2 separate regions of the Homo sapiens genome follow, and region 2 is linked to region 1. Evidence: promoter capture Hi-C in 16 types of primary human blood cells and fetal thymus (Javierre and others, 2016). All regions are on one chromosome and are shown on one strand. Each heading gives the region's core, a stretch centred on a gene start or on the middle of the fragment in contact. The rest is flanking DNA. Distances are from core to core; before and after follow the strand shown. Region 1 holds the start of MYBL1 (MYB proto-oncogene like 1). Region 2 overlaps DNAJC5B (DnaJ heat shock protein family (Hsp40) member C5 beta).

What was found. Contacts are between HindIII fragments. The CHiCAGO score rates a contact against its expected background, and 5 or more counts as called.
Region 2: a fragment that was not itself captured here is called in contact with the fragment with the promoter of MYBL1 in region 1 in 2 of 17 cell types (M0 macrophages and monocytes); the score reaches 6.1 in M0 macrophages.

What each region holds. Positions count from the first base shown.
Region 1 is chr8:66,611,663-66,615,269 of GRCh38, forward strand. MYBL1 (MYB proto-oncogene like 1) reads right to left here and starts at 1,556. Exons shown (of 16, transcript NM_001080416.4): 1 at 1,157-1,556. The coding sequence starts at 1,176. LOC105375884 (a long non-coding RNA gene) reads left to right here and starts at 1,887. Exons shown (of 2, transcript XR_929015.3): 1 at 1,887-1,990; 2 at 2,383-3,607. RefSeq lists a silencer at 1,323-1,842 and enhancers at 2,073-2,212, 2,263-2,342, 2,353-2,402. The HindIII fragment of the contact is 2,770 bases long and covers 33-2,802 here.
Region 2 is chr8:66,100,132-66,103,738 of GRCh38, forward strand. It overlaps DNAJC5B (DnaJ heat shock protein family (Hsp40) member C5 beta), which reads left to right. Exons shown (of 6, transcript NM_033105.6): 6 at 1-1,114. Among named protein-coding and RNA genes, the nearest start is that of TRY-GTA5-1, 11 kb to the right of the region's middle. The HindIII fragment of the contact is 873 bases long and covers 1,199-2,071 here.

The sequences.
Region 1 (3,607 bases), core at 306-2,805:
AGTTTGTCCTATAACTTACTTCAAAACTAATAAGCTTACAGAGACTTAAGGATTTCTGCAGAAGCATCCTGCACACAGCAGATGCTTAACAGAAAACTAAGGAAAAAACAATTATGTATAGTTACTGCCAATTTTTAGCAGAACTCTGCAATGAATGACCCCCATTACTAAATTTCAACTTAGGAAATACATCTCTAGTTAAGATTTTGGGGCTGTGGATCTAGATAAATAAATATTTGGAAATCCTGCCAAACATCTTTTCAGGTTTATTTGATAATGCTGAAAATCGGAAGACATCCTATATTTTTGTTATCTAAGCAATTACTCCACATAATTTATGAGTAGCTGCTGTAATGGCATGTAAACGAAAATTAGATGCATAAATTCATCCTAGCACATTTTCCAGGCAAAGGTGGAAAAAAGTGCCTTACCTCTGTGGAACACTTAGGTACGGTCAGAGCCAAACACAGACACTCAAAATATTAAGTGAATCAAACACATTGTTTTATTTCAAGATCAAGCTACTAGTTGTTACTACTAGTTGTTACTATGTGACATGGTCCCAAGAGAGGATATTAAAATATACATATATACATAAAGCTGAGCATATGGGTATAGGAATTACAGAAAACATCAAAAAAGTCCTCTCAGCTATTCCCCAGAGGATTTTCCACAACGTTTCAAGATAGCCAAGTTGGCAGAGGGGTGGCCGCCCAGGTTCACCGCGGAGTTCCTATTTTGACTGTACCGTCATTCAGAAAAGAGTCGCCCGAACACCATTTTCAAGTCCTCCCGGCAGGACACAGTCAGTTTTCTCTGCGTAGCGGACTCCCTAAAAGCGCTCGACTTACCTGGCAAGAAACCTGCCTCGAAGAAGTGGCAGCATGAGGTCAGAAATCTGGACGCGCATTACGGGGAGAGTCACCGAGAAACCTGGGCATCTCTTACGTCCCGCGCCTCAAACACCCTGGTCCCCAACTCTCCACACGTCGCAGCTGCCCTCCGGTCATCGAGGCCAAGCGGCCGCGGGGACGCGGGAAGAAAAACCTCTGCCCTCGCCAGGGAGGGCCTTATGGCGGGAGGGGGCAGCGGGATAGGAAAGAGAATCTGAGCCGAGACGGCGCCGACAGGCCTGGGCGAAAGGGGTGCCACCCACCTGCGCGACCTCTTCGCCATCCTTCAAGTACCGCATAGGAGCAGGCTGGGCGGGGACGCGGGTCAGCCTCCTCCAGCCTCCGGCGAATGCTCCTTCTCCCCGATCCTCTAGCCGCTTCCCTCGCTCCCTCTGGAGGCGGCCGAGTGCGGAACGCACGTCCTCGACAGGGCAGGACGGAGGGACAGCGGGGGCGGACCGCGACCCGACCCCGACCCCGGCCCGCAGCGCCGCTCTTAGCCCCGGCCCGGCCCGGCCAGGGATACCCCCAACATGTCAGGAGGCGCGATCCCGCCCTCCGCCGGCTTCTCCCGCCGCTTGTCAGCCTCCCTGCCCTGGCCCCAGCCCGGCTCCGCCACAGGCGCCCGACCCCTGCCCTCTCCCCCGCAGCTAGCAGTTCTGCAGGGCTCGCAGTCTCCTGCAGGGTTTTGTCCGCACCGCCGAATCTCGCGCCCAGCCTCCCTCAAGAGCCGCCGTTTGAATCTGCGCACGCGGCCCTGAACCTCATTGGCTGTGGGGGCCGCACGCGAAGAAGCGAGGGCGGGGAGGGGAGAGCGCGCGCGGCTGAGGGCGGGGCTGGGGAGCTGGAAGCTGGGACTGGAACTCGCGGGAGTCGGGGAAGGAGCCGGGAGCCAGGGGGTGGGGCCGCGGGTGGGGCCGTAGGTGGCGCATGCGAGCCGAGCTGTCATAGGACCCGGAACGCGCCGAGAGGCGCACCGCGCGGGGCCTGCTGGGAGAGCGAGTTCCTGCGCTCGCCGAGGAGTGGGTCCGGAAGCGGCGCCGGAGCGGGTCCGGAAGCGGGCGGTGGAGAAGTCCAGTTGCCCCAAAATTCTTAGGGTGAGCGAACCGAGTTTCTGGCGGGGTGGGTGGTCCCGCGGCCCACCAAGGGAACGTCTCCGCAGCCTCGCCTCGGCGACAGCTCCTGGCTCCTTAGGTGTCTTCCGCCTCACTAGTTAGGATGCGCGGTCTTCAGACTTGAGACAAATCTAACCATAAATTTGCGCGGCCGTTATTTTTTAAGCAAAAATGTGAGCTATTTTTACCCAGACATCATAGTTACGAGAGTGACGAAGACTCTGGCAGGAAACCAAATATCACCTGTTTTCCTCAAAAAGCAGCAGAAGAGTGACAAGTGAAAAAAGTTCCTAGCGGGAGACGTGCTTGGAACCGGAGATAATCTGTGTCTACCGCTGGTCTTCAAGGTGCTTAATTTCGTGCCCGCTCTACAGGAAATAACGTGCGCGGCGGAGGAGCCCTGTCCTGGAGAATAACGCGTGAAGAAGACAGTGGACTGGGCATTTCGTCCAGATGAATGAGCATGGTAGTTAAGTGTAGAAGGTGACCTTCTTCCCTCTGGAGAGACCAGGGAGGGGGGAACCACCGGAGGAGTTTCTAGCGGTTGCAGCTACTTGAGGTTCCAGTCTAATAACTACGAACTGTTCATTTCAAGTAGCATTAAAGTAGATTTGCTACAGTAACAATTACACTTGGCTAAGGAAAATTTGCAAGGCAACATGGTCTATTGCATAGAGCACTGAGCCACATGTTAACACTGTAACAAACACTTGCTATTTTGAAATTTTACGCTTCATCTTTTGCAAATCAGATGCAGGTGCAGAGTGAATTAAGAGGAGCTGAATTAAGAGAGAAGCTTGCATGCACTGCTGTCAAAACCTAAACACACTGGCTTTTTTTTTTTTAACAGTTCCTTTTTTCAAGGTATAGATTCTGGGAAGGTAAGGGAAGATAAAACAGCTTTTCTTTTTCTCTCCTGTTTTTTTTTTTGTTGTTTTTTTTTTGAGACTAGGTCTCACTCTATTCCCCATGCTGGAGTGCAGTGGCACAATCATAGCTTACAGTAGCCTCGAACAGCGATCCTCTTGCCTCAGCCTCCAAAGTAGCTGGGACTACAGGCGCGCGCCACAACACCTGGCCAAGCGTTTCTTCCAGATCATTCCTTACTGGGTTGCTGGTTCAGTAAAAATAAAAAAATAAAAAATAATTTAGAAATGAGTTCCCAAATTTCATTATGTTCCCAATGTCATTTGGAATCACTGTTTCACTGTTTTCTTATTTACCCCTGGGTCGTACATTACTTCACTTATTTATATCTAACAGGAAGCAGAGCTTCTGCTATATTTTAGGCTGTATTCAGTTTTATACAGAATACCTTTTTTAGAGCTTGAAGACAAATGTTTTAGATTTTGACAGTAAAACAAATTTCCCTCATTTTTACATATAGAGAAAAGCAATTCCCAGAAAGATAACATTGTGAAATTACTGAAATCAGTTATAAAACTCAGGGCAAAGTGTGGAATTAAAGTGGTTCACAGTCATTTGAATACACATACTCAGATGTATTCTAAACTAAGATGAGTTTTTTTTTAAGCAAACGTTTAGAGATTTTATTCAGAGTATATAAAGAACTCTCAAAACTCAGTGAGAAAAAAAGCA
Region 2 (3,607 bases), core at 385-2,884, 510 kb before region 1:
CCATCTTGTTGTTTTATTTTTGGGTTAGGAAAACATGATTGCTATATAATTTTCTCAGTATGCAGACTTTCTCTCTGAGTAGAATTTCTTATGAAACACATTCAATTTGGGTGAATAAAGGCCTGAAGAGTTATTTTACCCTCCTTGCCTGATGTAGGACAGTGGAATTGTACAGCCTTTATGAACCTGCCCTTTATGTGTGGCAGATCTGATTCCTAACTGACCAAAGTAATATTCCAGAACAAAAGCCACTTTTCTTACATTTAACACAATATTCATATCTACCACGAACATGATCATCAAAATATATGAGAACTTATAAAGAGTTTTTGTGTGTGGAGCCTCTTCCGTGTCAATATTCAATAAAGTTATAGAAATGTTTCAAGAGCCAGAAAGGGATGATTTTTTTTTAAATCACATTTTTAAGGTATATTTTTGGAACATTAAAAATTGGCATTTACTGAAAACTGGAAACCAGGAAGAAACAGGTTTTGTGTGTACTTTTAGATTGGCTTAAAAACAAAACAAAACAAAACTTCAACCTGGTTAAATGTTGTAAGTGAACCAGAAAATCATTCTGAGCCTGAACCCGCCCCATCAGCATGTTGATCATTTTCTAGTAAAATAATTTTTGTATAACTGGCTCAGATTAGCCAGACTAAGGGAAAAAAAACAGATGAAGGGGTAGAACTCTATACTCTAGAGCCTAAATTTACACCAAAACATGTATCACCTCATTTTTGTTAAAATTAGTTGCCTTGACCAGAAATTGCTCAGCTCTGTGCATGTTACACAATTTAAGCCCAGAGGTCATCTCTGCATTTGCTTGTTTGATTCTTGTATTTATTATGTGGTAGAAACCATGTGCTATTTCTAAAATACTATGGCAGAAAAAGTGTTCGTTTTTCTAGCTCTTTCTTACTTTTTTATATAATATTGCATTTTCAAGATCTTGTTATGTTTTTATATAATATTGTATAAAATGCCTTTATCTTTTTTCTTGTTTCTTATTCCCACCCAAAAAATTATAGTTAATTGCTGCTAAATATATATTGTAAGTGAGAATTAGTGTTATAGCTCTGATAGTTCTGAGGTCATTAAAATTCCACTCTAACTCTTTAGTTACTGAAATTCTTTTTCTAGGCAATCAAGTAGACAGAGCCTTGGTTTGAAAGCTAAGAAACCTGGTTCTAATCTAAGCTTTCATTAACTAGCCTTGTGACCAAGTGAGATGAAAATAACATGGCTAATCTCTCTATGGCTCTGTTTTCATATCTGCCCTGACCACCTTCCAAGTTGCTGGATGACCAGATAAAATGGCTGAAGTGAAAGAAATCTGAAAAGTCAAATGTTCAACAAATGTAAGGTGGTTTTAAATGAATTTGTATATGTTGACGCACACAGACAAATGTACTATGACTCTTGATGCATATAAACTCTCTCACCCAACAAGACCCATGGAGACACCCAGTATTAACAGCTCCAGTAACCAGCAAGTGCTTGGAACGCTGTATTCAACAAACAAATGCTACTTTCCATTTGGAGGAAACAATAGGATAAATAGCGCAATCTGTGGATAATTTGAGCCATTCCATTTCCTTCCTGTGGCCTTTTTAAGCAAAAGGTCAGGTCTATTTTGAAAAGCAACTTACAAATTACAAAGCTCACCTTCTCTTTCTTGCCCAGACCTCATTTTCCTTTCTCACATGGAATTTTTTGCTTCCACTCCTAGTTCCCCAGGAAGCTGGTCCAAGAGTGGTTAAGATGAGAACAGGACATGGATCAGAATCAGAATCAGATGGTAGAATCAAATTGCTAGAGGGGTTCTGGCCAATGTTCCTCACAAAGGGCTAGTTTCTGGTTACAATGATGTGTGACAAATGCAAACACTTGAATACCTATGAATGAGGGAATGAATTCTGCAGAATACTCCTTCAGCTACAGAGATACAAGAATCCACTCTTCATCAGAGGAGGAGCTGCTGAAGTATATTGTGGGGGTCTACAGAAGTGCTATCCAAGAAGCACTGGCAGTCATTCTGAACCCACAAGAAGTCTTCCCTTAGCAGGGAAGCTTCAAGGCAAGAAGAGAAATGCTGAGCGTGAGCCTCATCAGTGGTCACACAGAGTCCAATGAACAGCCCGTGTCAACAGCTCACCACCTCTCCTGGGCACTGTGCTACTGGAATAGGAGACTTCTTAAAAAGTTCCATGAGTCATCCATTTATTTTTTTGCTGTCTTACAGTAGAACATAATAAAAAAATACATGTGCATTTTTCTTTACCAAAACACACACACACACACATATATATCTCAATTCTTTTAGAATAAGCGACATTCTATATCTAGAATGAAAAAACTGTCTATACATTAATTAACTTATTATTATTATTTTTTTGAGACAGAGTCTCACTGCAATCTCTGCCTCCTGGGTTCAAGCAATTCTTGTGCCTCAGTCTCCCGAGTAGCTGAGACTACAGTCACGTGCCACCACACCCAGCTAATTTTTGTATTTTTAGTAGAGACAGGGTTTCACCATGTTGGCCAGGCTGATCTCGAACTCCTGACCTCAGGTGATCTACCCGCCTAGGCTTCCCAAAGTGCTGGGATTACAGGTGTGAACAACCGTGCCCGGCTACATTGATTAACTTATTAGCATAATAGTTTTATATAAAATGCCTTCATTTCAAAAAAGTTTTTATTGTATTTGGCATGGAAATTATTTTTTTAAATCAATGTGTAACATACTAGAAAATCAGCTACCAAAACTTGAAAGATACATGTTATTCTGAGTCAAAGGGTAAAGTTTTAACAAAATAAAATGAGTTACCTTCCTACTCACATTCTGCATTTCTTAGCTCTCTCTTTTACCTCTTCCCTTAGCATCCCATCCCCCAAAATAGAGGATTTGAAAGTGTTGGCCTTAGGCTCATAAGTGCATTTACTTGTATTTGAGAAAGATGATTTATTCTTTCACAAATTAAAAATAAAATTTCTAAGAGAATAATAACCAAGAGTCGTAGTGCTTAGTACCTGACACTGCCCTAAGAGCTTTATATTGATTCATTTAATACAACAACCTGTGAGAGAAGTACTGTCACCATCATCATCTGTCATTTTCTAGACTATGTAACTGGAACACAGAAAAGATAAGTAACTTGGCTAAGAACACCTAGCTATGGAGTAGAGCAGGCTGGTCCTGAGGCCACAATATTAACAGCTGCACTATATAGCCTCTCCAGGATGACCTTGTGTTTCCAACTACATTTGTTCTTGAACATGAATCCTAGTCTCTTCCCCACTCCCCATCCAACTCTTTCCCAGAGTTCTCTGACTTTCAAGAGAATATACTCACTGTGTCACTCCCTTTATTAACTACCTTTCTCTTCAACTGCCCTTTGCAGCTCAAGGAGATTCCCCTAAGAAATCTTCCTTGTTAATTCCCTGTGACTTCCTCAAGAGCAAATCTGAAGGCTTCCTATATCTCTTACTTCACTCCCACTCCTTCCCCTTCCCCTTTTTCTTCCTCTCCCCGCTCCCCGCCACCCCAGCACTTCCTTATTTGGGAGATCTCTGTGGTCTTAGCAGCTATGTCTTTACCACCTTC